Linked DNA regions of Homo sapiens: region 2 is linked to region 1. The links are contacts of gene promoters, found by promoter capture Hi-C in blood cells and fetal thymus (Javierre and others, 2016). All regions are on one chromosome and are shown on one strand. Each heading gives the region's core, a stretch centred on a gene start or on the middle of the fragment in contact. The rest is flanking DNA. Distances are from core to core; before and after follow the strand shown. Region 1 holds the start of LNP1 (leukemia NUP98 fusion partner 1). Region 2 overlaps NXPE3 (neurexophilin and PC-esterase domain family member 3).

Region 1 (6,564 bases), core at 1,475-3,974:
AGTTCTTCTACTATCCAGTCATAAACCTTTTAGAAAATAGGTAATGCTTCACTCTCCCATAGGAAAGATCATATGGCTTTCTCATGGCCTAGCACAATGCCTCACACACTGCAGATACTAGTTTGTTCATTCCTACACCAAAACTTCCTTTAAAGCTAATTTGACATCCTAGTAAAAATATCTTCGCCCGGGCGCGGTGGCTCACGCCTGTAATCCCAGCACTTTGGGAGGCCAAGATGGGCAGATCACCTGAGGTCAGGAGTTCAAGACCAGCCTGGCCAACACAGTGAAACCCCGTCTCTACTAAAAATACAAAAATTAGCGGGGCATGGTGGCGCGCGCCTGTAGTCCCAGCTATTCCGGAGGCTGAGGCAGAACTGCTTGAACCCAGGAGGCGGAGGTGGTGGTGAGCTGAGATCGCACCACTGCACTCCAGCCTGGGCAACAAAGTGAGACTCCATCTCAAAAAAAAAAAAAAAATTCAACCTGAATAGTATAATATGGAAATGACTTGCATACATATTTAAGTGTATACACTTGGATACAATTAGAAGTTACTTGACCAACTGTATATACTTATGTATAAAACTGGGAGATATTTGACCAAACGTTTCTCTGACCTCGACTTACTCTGGTACTACCATTGAACAACTCCAGACCCAGAGAAAATCCACCACACCCAATCCCAGTATTGTCAAATGCAGCCAGACTAATTCTCTGCACAGCTGTCAGATACCAAAAGGATTTAACAGTCAGTTCACCAAAACCATACAAAGCAGTTCACTAAATAATCCAATGCTTGGCCTCACATCAGAGAAACTGTATCATGCATATTAGGCTTGGTCATGTACATTTCCAGGTGAAATGGAAAAACTGAATTTAAGATGCTTCCAATCAAAAAGTTTAAGAAGTCACTCCCATTTTTTTTTTTTTTTTTTTTGTATGTGTGTGTAGGCCTGGACCTGGGGCAGGGGGCTGTGTGCAACCAAGCCTGGTGAGCATTGCTGTGGCCGCTACTCTTGTGCAGCAAGAGGGGACAGTGCAGTGCAGAGCGTTTTCTGACAAAGGCCAAGGGGTCCGGAGTGCAAAAGGACACCTTGGGGCTGGGGCATGGCAGGAGAGGTTACGGGCGCTGAGTGCTTGCAGCCAAGGGGGCTTCGGGGTTGCTGAGAGAGGACGAGCCTTGGGAGCTTGACAGTTCTGCTTACAGTTCAGAGGCTGTAAAACAAATGCCACTGAACACCATTTCACTCTTTAGAACCTGTGTAGTCTTTCTTTTTCTATGTAGAAAGCCATCTAATCGTTTTTGTTTTTGTTTTGCTTTTGTCAACTAACCGTCACTGTAGTTGCCCACTTACCCCCAGCAAAAACACACTCCAAAAGGGGGAGTGGCTCATTATTAAAAGGCTCTTAGCGATTAGGTTGTAGGCTTTGGAAATCACAGAAACAGTTCGTATCACGATGTACCAATTGTTAATCGAATTTAGCTTCCTTCACTTATTAAATACAATCATCACATTTGCAAATGCCCCACTCCCATCTACAACACTAGGGATAAATGCTGTGTCACTGAGAAGAAAAGCAAAGGATTTTTCTGAAACCAAAAGCAAACTGTCAAAGAATGCCAGTAACCTGTCATCGAGCTACTCTATGCCCTCCACTGGCAGCCAGAAATGAGTCTCCCTAAACCCAAGTGTTGTGCTGCCGCTTGGCAGCTTCCGTCTGATGGGAAGCCCCCTCACTGACACAACCCGCCAAGGAAAAGCTGCACGAGCCAGTTTCCTCCTCTACGGCCTGGGGCTGCTTCTCACCATGTCCAAGTGAGCACCGGGACCTTCAGGGTGTCCGCTGCCCGGGGCCGGACTGGCCCTGCCCTCCGGGGTCTTCCGTTCGCTGTTGCGCTTCAGGCCGCTGGCGTCGCCCCGGCCTCTGGCCTCCCGGCGCCGTTGCTGCCGACTCCACAGGTATATGGCACCCGCGCCCAGCAGCAGGGGTGCCCCGACCGCCAGAGCCAGCTGCCATCGCGGCAGCCCCCCCGTGCCCGGGCCCGCAGTCCCGCCGCCGCCCACCCCACTCCCGGAGCTCGGTACAGCGGCTGCGACCACCGCTGCCTCCACAGGTTTAGAGGCGGCCATGACAAGTGTCCTCTGCCACCGCCTCCCTGTCTGTCGCGAGCGCCACAATCACCAAACAGCGTGCGAAGGAAGACCGAGGGAGGGAAGGAAAGCAATGAGCGAGCGAGCACGCTAGGCAGAGAGAGCGGACGACAGAAAAGGGCCAGAGGTCACCGGAAGCCCAGGGCATGCCGGGCCAGACCTGGCCGTCCTTCTCCTCCAGTATCAACCGAAGAGGGAGAGGAGGGGCGGAAATCACTTCCGGGTTAAGGGAAAGCGTGGGTGTGAGTAGGAGTCTTCGGAAACCCTTTTTCTTTCTTTTCGCCCCGCTGCTGTTCGGGAGATGGACTTCTGGAGTCCCCGTCGTAGCTGGTGTTGTCCCCTCTACCTTCAGGAAAGAAGGGCAGATGGCCCTCTTGCCTACTGAAGCCGAGGAGGGGCGCGTATACAGCGGGCTAAGGGCGCTCAAGAGATCCGAGTGGAAGAAAAAGCAGCGGCACAGCACTGGAATGGGCGGGAGTGGCAGAAGAGTTGTGAAGGCTATTGGCTAGCAAGGGTGGTGGGCGGGGCGTAGACCGAGCTACCCAGTTTACTGGTCGATTTCGGATCCAGTTTTCCAGTTATAGCCACGTTGGCACCTCTTGAACCTCTGTGGCCGTTAGCACGGTTTTCTGCCCGCGTGCCCGAGAAACCAACGGATTAGAAGGACTTTTAAAGATGTGTGAGGAAAGAGCTCACCGCTGAAGAAGGCTGCTGCATCACTGAACTTCTTATCACTAACATAGCGAGATTTTAGTTTGGACGAATTTGAGGTTATAGGGGAGATAGCGATGGCAGAAGACTAGGTGGAAATGGCACATCTAGGTTGGCTGCAGTCGAAACGGTTTGAGCGTGGTCGCTGTGGCTCATCGTCGGCACCAATTAACGAAGCGATGACATCTGCGTTGTTAGGGGTTTCTTAAACTGAGTTGGTAGAAATGCGAAGCGTCAGGGTTCCCGCCGGCTTCGAGCCTTTCTTGGCGTATTTGTATCTTGAGCTGATTTCTGCGTCAGCCCACATCTCGCTCTGATCCGCACGCCCCCCGGGTTGTTTTGCAGTAGCAGTCTCAGCCCTCTTCTCGTCTCATTCCCAAATCGTAATTTCAGTTCACAGCTTTTTATCTATAATAGCTTTATCAACTCTTTTTCCGATGCTCTGCACCAGATCTCTTAAAATATAAAATTACCTTGCAAGGTATTGTTTGGAATACACGGTATTTTCATGAAGACAACTATTAATAGAAAAATCAGAGTCCAGAACTATGGTTCTCCATTTCTGGTATACTGGTTTGCAGAAGCCTTACATTAAGATTTCATAAATGATTGTTTTGCTGTTAAGTGCAACAACATCACAGTAGAGCTACATAAAGATTGAAAGGAGATATTTTATCAAGTGGCACCAGAATGGACTGATTAAAATAGAATGGCCTAATTGGAAAGAATTTCAGGATCACCGGTTTCTCCTGCTTCATGTAAGTTCCTATTAGTAAATTGCCTTCAGGCAATAGGGTTTCTTAGCAACAGACTAAAAAAATGGGCTAAAAATAGCAGTGGAATTGAGTTGATCGTTGCAGGCAATAGGCTTTTCTCCCCTCCTGATCCCCCAATCCCCAAAGGCAAATTTTCTGCCCCTTAATATAAGCTCTGCCTTGCCTTTTTCAGAACACAAGTTAGGATTTTTTTTTTTTTCTGAAATTTCAGTTTTGCTGTGGCCTCTTGGAGGATTGTAGAGTGCTAACAATTACAAACTTGATAGGAACTAAAACATATTTGAAGTTTTTTTTTTAAACCTTTTTCTTATTTATTGGAGTAAGCAATACACTGTTACGGTTAAACTCCAAAAGTTACAGAGTTTACTGTGAAAAGTCTTCCTTCAGTCCCTGTCCTCAGCTGCACAGTTCCCCTCTCCAAAGGGAATCGGTGTTATTTTCTTGAAACATTTTTTGGATTAATATTTATCTAAAGGCCTGATTTTGTTTGGCTTTATTTTTAAGGTTGGCATTAGTAAACGAATCTGTTCTGGTTACTTTTATACTTTGATAAACATCTCATTTCCATTCTCTAGCCTATGCTATTCTCTCATTTTCTCCTCCATTTCCTAATTGATGGTACTGTAGAGCCAAATAGAGTGTCGCTTACTGGCTTTGGGACCTTACTGATCTGATGCATGTTTTTCTAATCTGTGAAATGGTGAAAACATCTACCTCTCAGGCTATAGTAAAGATTTAATTAGAGAATATTTAAAGTTCTTTTGATGTTTGTTACAAAGCAATAGATATTTGATGATTAGTTCTCAGTTTTTCTAAATTTTAAAGTAAAGAAGTAAAATACTGCCTTTCATTTCTAAAAAATTAAAGTTCTGTATATGTGAACATAGACATTATCTTTTTCTTGGTAGATTAGTGGAACTCAACTGAAGAAGCTTTCTTCACCTTTGATCTGTATCTTAGGAGGCAGTTAAATGAGATAGTCTAATGGACTAGGTTGTGGAAGACCTGAGTTTTTTTTTTTTTTGAGATGGAGTTTCGCTCTTGTTGCCCAGGCTGGAGTGCAATGGCGCCATCTTGGCTCACTGCAGCCTCTGCCTGCAGGCTTCAAGCAATTCTCCTCCCTCAGCGTCCCAGTAGCTGGGATTATAGGCGGCTGCTACCATGCCAGGCTAATTTTTTGTATATTGGCCAAGCTGGTCTTGAACTCCTGACCTCAGGTGATCTACCTGCCTCGGCCTCCCAAAGTGCTGGGAATACAGGCATAAGCCACCATGCCCAGCTGACCTGAATTCTTATTCTAAATTTTAATACCACTGAGTTGTGTGTGTGACCATGGGCAACTCTGCTTTCTTTATAATGTGAGGAGGGGTGGATTAGATTATTTTTAAGGCTCCTTATTGTTTTAAAATGATGTAATTCTGTCCCTTCAATTGTCATTGCTACATGAAAGGCCTTTCAGATTGCTAGAGTTGGTAAATAGCTGGTTGACTGGTGTCCAAACCTTCCAGCCAGTGCACAAATCTGCTTATATTAAGCATGTACATATAGAACAGCTCTATTCTCTTTCAGCTGTCTGATGTTTTCATTCTGTTTTTCCTTACTGAAAAATTACTGAAAAGAATTGTCTACATCTGTTACTTATTTGGCACCCATTTCATCCAAAATCTGTTGTAATCTAGTTTACAACTTTATAATTAGGCTGAAAGTGCTTTAGAAGTCATAAAATTCATTGTGGTTTTTTTGTGGGTGGGGGAGGTTGGCTGTCACCCACTTTTACTTGATACCACTGATTATTCTCTCCTTGAAATGTTCTTTTCCTTGGCTTCAGGAGAATAGAGTCTTCTGGTTCTTCTACGCTCTGACCAAACTCTAGATCAGTGCTGTCCATCACAGCTTTCTATGATGCTGGAAATGATTTATATTTATGATGTCCAATATGGTAGCCACTAGCCACATGTGGCTATTGAGCACTTGAAATGTAGTGTGACAAAGACTACAGTTTTCATTATTTAATTGATTTAAGTAGTATCATGTGGCTAATGACTACCATATTGGACAGCACAGCTCTAGATATTCCTCAAGTGAGGAATTTATTAGAATATGTCTTCTTCTTTATCTTCAATCTCTCCATTAGTAACCAAAGTAAATCTCATTGCTTCAGGTACCATTTCTGTGCAGATAATCACTGTCTATATATCTTTTGGCATAGCTTCCCTTTTTACCTCTAGCCCTATATTTCTTACTACTTACTGAGCAGTTTTGCTTGGATTCCTGACTTTTGTCAAAAATATAACTCATCATTTTCCCCACTCATTCTTTCTCTTTGTGTTATCCTTTTTTTTTTTTTTTTTCCAAGATGGAATTTCGCTCTGTTGCCCAGGCTGGAGTGCAGTGGTGTGATCTCGGCTTACTGCAACCTCTGCCTCCTGGGTTCAAGCGATTCTCTTGTCTCAGCCTCCCGAGTAGCTGGGACTACTGGCGCCCGCCACCACACCTGGATAATTTTTTGTATTTTTAGTAGAGACGGGGTTTCACCGTGTTAGCCAGGATGGTCTCGATCTTCTGACCTCGTGATCCGCCCGCCTCGGCCTCTCAAAGTGCTGGGATTACAGGCATGAGCTACTGTACCCAGCCTGTGTTATCCATTTTTTCTAATAATACCACTATTACCTTAGCAGTTACTCATATTTGAAACCATAGACCTTTTTAGACCTCTCTCTTTTTCATCCTTACCTACCCAAGCACAAATGATTATGCTGTTGTATTTATATACACACATAAACACAAAATCAGCTGTGAAGTCTTCAACAAATTCAACTTTGTTGTAATATCTTTCTTATAGTTTTTTCACCCATTCTGACACTTCTTAGTTCATATAAGTGAAAACTCCTAAGAGTATGTATAACACATAACAGATACTC
Region 2 (5,844 bases), core at 1,363-3,862, 1.4 Mb after region 1:
GCACCTTCACTAACCCGGTGCGGAGCACTTGGCGACGCCTCCCTGCCCATCTCATATCTCTCGGCTCATCGCTGCTCTGGGCACCAGCTGCCTCTTGGCTGGCGCTGCTGTCACACGGTGGACTGTTCTGGCCTTACTGAGCTGCCGTTTGGGGACATCAGATTCAGGTCGTATGGGGAGAAACGAGTGTAACTTTACAAGGTGTGATATGGAGACCCTGGCCTGTTGCCCATTTCTGCCTGATCAAAGGCCACTAGGGTGGTAATAAGAGGGGTTCCGAGGCAGGATTTATGCAGCATTTGTGCAAAATTGTAAATTTTCTTTGCTTTTCATTATTTACATTAAAGGGGGATTGTTGCCACATTTCCTAAAGATAAAGAATCACACTGCTTTGGTGGGCCTCCCCGCTCCTCACTGTGGTTAATTATCATTTGGAACATCAGGATATATTTGAAACTGGCAGGACTCCCAGACCCTGATAATTGTTTGGAGGCAGCAGTATACTATTTCTCCGTAGTGTTTGGGTTCTGCTTTTCTTTGAATTTGTTTAGTATTTTTTTTTCCATGTCTGTTATCCTCACAATCTCTTTGGGGCCAATAGAGTGCTGTTATTTGTTACTGAGAAAGGAAACGAAGGGATAAATCACTGAAGTGGGGTTAGCCTTCCCCATTGCCTGGGAATTGGGTTGTCCTGACCTGACAATTTAAGTTACAATTCAAACATCATTTTGGAAAGGCCATCCTTTTACCAACTGAAACGAATAACAGTCCCTGGCCACTCTATACTAGTGGTTCTCCCACTTGGCTGTATGTTGTAATCATCTAGGGACCTTTTTAAAAAAAGCTACTTCTTGGGCCTATTCCTACAGATTCTGATTTAATTGTTTGAGTGGGGCCCAGTTGTTTGTATTTTAAAAAGCTTCCACGATGATTATTAATGTTCATGCAGGGTTGAGGACCACAACCTATCAATGTGTTCAATATTTAAAAAATAGCACTTAGTACAGTGTGACTTATATAACTGATTTTATTACTTCTCCACTTGCTATGTAACCTCCATGAATACATGGGGCCCTGCTTTGGAAGAAGGGCAAGGGAAGGTCCAGATGAGTCAGCACTTTGTGCATGTGAGGCTGCGGGACACGAAGGAGAAATGGAATCTGTGGAAACAAGTCCTGCAGACTACTGCCCCTGCTTCATCTTTTTTCAAGGATTGACCCTATTTGGTTAACCCATCATTGTTAGGGTCCTGGATGGGTCTCCAGTTCTTCATTCTGTAGATCCTGCCCTGTTTCAAGGTCTTACTCAGCATCCTATGAAATACAGCTACTCTTTGCAAAGTTTGAAATATATGCATTTAAGTGTAGATATTTTCCATGTAAATCTGTGCTTTTGTCTCTTACTATTGTTCTGAACTATATATTCTGAACTAAAGTTCCAGACACTTGCTGTGACTAGTACAGTTACATTTATTTGGCCAACAGGTCAGAGTAGTTAGGATAGGGACTGCCTCAGAAACTGGACAGTTTCTATGCAGTTGTCCTATAATATATTATCTTTGTGGAATGGTTGCCTGAGAACATTAGCTCCCCAGAGGATAGGGTTGCTGTCTGATTTTCTTTGTTTAATATTGAACTCAGGAATTTCATTTGTGTTACTGACAATTGTAATTCCAAATGATGTAAGTGACTGCTTTGTAATTCTCTTGTGAGATGGGGGTAGGAACCCTAATGGCAGTCTGGGGTTGTTGTCACAGGCCATAAAGAAGTTAGATTGGCCACTATGAGTCTTGGATATGGAAGTAGGCTTAATAAAAATTTGGCAGAACACTTCCAACAAATACTGGGTTCCACATGTAAGGCAGAGCATGCATTTAACTTTTTGCTTGTTCTTTGCACATATTATAAAAATAAAGCATGAGTAAGTGGTGGTCTGACATTTGAAAACAGGATCACTCAAGTTTAGATTCCTTGAATAATAACTTTTAGATCTGTACAGATACCCCTTTTTTCTGTAGGGGAAAACAAGATCATTGGATCATTGAACTAAATAATTATAATAGTTTTTAAGAAAAATAACATTTGGAGCTTTTATCTTTGGTTTATATTTTTTCACTTATATCGCTGTTTATAAAGTTTTGACCTTCAGCCAAGGTCTGAGAGTGATTTACCATGTTGAAGTTCATGTATTTAAATAGACTATTTAAATTACTGTTTTTTATTAGTAAGGAAAAGGAAACGTTCCTATGCCCACTCCTCCCACTATATCATGTATAACTCTCTTGCCTGTAAAATTGTACTCTTAATTTCTAATGTTTTTCTTTACTTCATTTTCAGTATCTTTAACCTTTATATCATATGCATATTTTTGTTTCAGCAAGAAGAATTGTATAGAAATGTAAAAAACATTTATGTGTGCTTCACATGTGGCATGAAAAAAATGAGGACCTCTGGTCAAAATTGCCTGAGTTCAGAATTTCATGCTGGAAGGAAAGTTAGACGTAACTTCTAATTTCTAGTTCCAGTAAGCATCTCTTCTTGGAAAATTTCCAAAAAAGGTAAATTACATTGAATTATATATTTTTATTTTTTTGGTTAATCTGAGGAACTTTTTTCTATAATCATTCCCTGCCAACACTGTTGTTCTTACTTGATTTTAAGGCTCCTTGCAAATAGCATTCCTGTTATAATGCGTAGGTTTTATGTTTATAGGAAAATACCAAAAACCTGTTACAGTTTTTTTTTTACACTACAATTACCTCATGCCGTGAAATAGTTTTCTTCTTTTACTTAAAAATCTTTCAGTTTAAGTTGAATTGATTTCACAGATGTGATTTAATGCTTTGTTTCTGCTATGTCTCATCTTTAATTTTTACTTTTAGAAATTGGTTTTATTCTTTATTTTATTTCATTTTTTTTTGAGACAGAGTCCTGCTCTGTTGCCCAGGCTGGAGTACATTGGTGTGATGATCATGGTTCACTGCAGCCTCGACCTCCCAGGCTCAAGCAATTCTCCTACCTCAGCCTCCTGAGTAACTGGGACTATAGGTGCGTACTACCATGCCCAGCTAATTAAAAAAAAATTTTTTGTGTGTGTGGAGTTGGGGGTCTCACTATCTTGCCTCAGCTAGTCTCAAACTCCTGGTCTCAAGCAAACCTCCTGTTTTGGCCTCCCAAAGTGTTGGGATTATTGGCGTGAGCCACCATGCCTGGCCCAGCTTTATTCTTTGTATTTGTGATTTTTATTTCCTGGTGAAAAATTAGGACATACAGATAAAGGAGAAAACAAAAACTGCCAAGAGGTGACAACTATTAAAATTTTAATATATATCTTTTCTTTTTTTTTTGAGACGGAGTCTCGCTCTGTCACCCAGGCTGGAGTGCAGTGGCGTGATCTCCGCTCACTGCAAGCTCCGCCTCCCAGGTTCACGCTGTTCTCCTGCCTCAGCCTCCCGAGTAGCTGGGACTACAGGCACCCGCCACCACGCCCAGCTAATTTGTTGTATTTTTAGTAGAGACAAGGTTTCACCATGTTAGCCAGGATGGTCCCGATCTCCTGACCTTGTGATCCGCCTGCCTCGGCCTCCCAAAGTGCTGGGATTACAGGCGTGAGCCACTGCACCTGGCCTGGTATATATCTTTTCAAAGAGAGGTCTGTCTAGTGTGCCTCACGCAACATCTATTTAGGTGTACAAATGGGTCTCTCAAATGTCAGTGCTCTACTTACAGCACAGAGTCAGGTCTTTTCCTGGCACAATCCTCCTAAATTATTGTCAGTAGAAGCCTCTAGCTGGGAGGGACTTCTTGCATTGCTGCCTCTGGTCCTGTAGTTCTTTTGCTTTAGAGTCTCCTGCCCTTGCCTTCTTTCTGCATCACTGACAGCTGTGTGCTGCTGCTGCCTGGCTGAACCACACTGATGTCCTTTAAATGGCTAGTGTCCACACAATGCATGACCACACCTGCCTATGGTGCAACTAAATTCCTGTGGACTACCATCTTTGGTCTTTTCCCTCTCTGGCCATTGTGGAAACCTGATTTTTTTTTTATGGACAACTTTTTGAGAAGGATTTCAATGGCAGAACAGTTGGGACCCTGATGACAGAGTTATCCTCTATTTTACAGCCAGTTTCTTCCAAGAAGTTATAGACAGTTTGAGGTGGATGAGTGTCTGGATATTGGAGAGAGGAGGTGTCAGGAAATGGAGAAGCACAGTCTTTCACATTTCCTGGCATCCCTGTGGAGGTGGCCAGGACTGGTGGATTTATTTCTCCTTAAGAAGGGGCTGACATCTTGTCTAATATGAGTGTAAGCTTTTCAAGGGGAATTTCTGGCACTTAGTACAGTGTGTGGTATAGCGTAGGCCTCCATAATTATTTGTTGCATAGATTGTTGAATCATTGTGTACCATGTAAAGAACTAAGTACCTTGAGCAAATCAGAAAAGTATAATGCAGTATCATTAAGTTGCTTTTCTCTGATATATGGTTTTTTAAAAAAATACAGTCATAATTGGTATAGTCTAGTTTGAGAGATAAGAAATACAAATAGAGGGAGCATGAGGGAGAAAAAAATACAAATAGAGATCAGCAGAGAAGTGAAAATAATAAGTGCTATGGGAACTCTGAGGATGGAGAGCTTGTTGGAATGGCTCACCCTTGTCTCCTTTGTGAAGCTGATTGGCATTGTCATTGTGGTTGGGACTGGTTCAGACAGGTGAGGCAGAGGAGTGAGAGAATGGGGGCTTGCCAGGTCCAACACAAAGTGGAGGGGAGAGTTGATGCAGCTGAGTTATTCTGAGATACTCTGCACCATGATTTTGTACCCTTTCTGCCTTTATTTCTGTGTCCTGCCCTTCATGGAAAGTCTCCCTGGGGATAGAATACTAGGACATTTTCTGTTTACCTGTATCAAAATGGCAAGTGGAAAGAGCATTTGAATTTGTTACGTGGGAGAACAGTTAGGCACTGCTGACTCTGAAGTCCTCTGCCTCTAGCAGGTGTGATGAAGGATTTTGGGATCCTGTTACCCATTTTTCAAGCTTGACTTTCCTCTCCCACATCTTCCAGGCAGGTGTGTGTCTTCCTGTGCCTTATCATGTAGCTGAGGGAGCATCAGGACCACATATGTGGTGGGGAGAGCTGGAAACCTAAAGAGTGTGTCGCGTCTCCTGCCATACCTCTGTATGAGAGGGGTAGCACTTCTTGTTTGCCAGAGAATGTCAGGATGCTTTGCACAGTATCCCAGAGCTCTTCATGAAAACAGTTTCCTCTTCATGTTCTTTAAGTGTAATTAATGTAGCAGTGTTACATAACTTAAAGGGAAGGGGAAGGGAAGTGATTTTATTGACTGAGGTCTCTGTAGAAATTTAGCAGTTACTTTTATTTCACAATTTCTGAGTTTGAAGACATACTTCCTTACTTTCTTAAAAGTTAAAACCTAAATAGGCAATAGGGGAAATATTGTATTTACACGGAAGCCTGACACTGGGAAAGGAAACTTTGAGGAGATTGTCTGGAAATGAAAAGACGTTACTGTGCTCTGGCTCTTTGCTTTCTCCTTGTGACTTTGGGCCTTAGATAAGGTTAAGGAAGAGGAAATGTGATGTTTTTCCTCTCACCCCACCCTAGGCCATTGCAATTGGTGATGTTCTCTCATCTCTCCTCTTTGAAGGATTTCTTTGAAGAAAAATGTGCTTCTTGAATCAACTGCAGTCTCTCCTCTGCATAAGAGCTCTTAAGGGTACTAGCAGGATAGAAGCAAATGAAACTGAAAGCTCATCTGCAGCTCAGAAAAGCAAAGACATGGAATTTTAAAGAGTGAAGGTAGCATGGTGTCGGCCATGGGTG

Evidence for each region. The method cuts DNA at HindIII sites, captures the fragments that hold promoters and counts their contacts. A CHiCAGO score of 5 or more calls a contact.
Region 2: a contact is called between a fragment that was not itself captured here and the fragment with the promoter of LNP1 in region 1, in 1 of 17 cell types (fetal thymus). The highest score is 5.5, in fetal thymus.

Annotation. Positions count from the first base shown.
Region 1 is chr3:100,398,815-100,405,378 of GRCh38, forward strand. LNP1 (leukemia NUP98 fusion partner 1) reads left to right here and starts at 2,725. Exons shown (of 4, transcript NM_001085451.2): 1 at 2,725-3,625. TOMM70 (translocase of outer mitochondrial membrane 70) reads right to left here and starts at 2,275. Exons shown (of 12, transcript NM_014820.5): 1 at 1,812-2,275. The coding sequence starts at 2,135. RefSeq lists enhancers at 693-1,612, 2,294-2,403, 2,454-2,503, 2,514-2,603 and silencers at 1,974-2,053, 2,664-2,743. The HindIII fragment of the contact is 4,606 bases long and covers 1-4,573 here.
Region 2 is chr3:101,779,734-101,785,577 of GRCh38, forward strand. NXPE3 (neurexophilin and PC-esterase domain family member 3) reads left to right here. Exons shown (of 8, transcript NM_145037.4): 2 at 2,377-2,557; 3 at 2,927-3,047; 4 at 5,669-5,844. Among named protein-coding and RNA genes, the nearest start is that of NXPE3, 3.4 kb to the left of the region's middle. RefSeq lists an enhancer at 151-200. The HindIII fragment of the contact is 3,390 bases long and covers 918-4,307 here.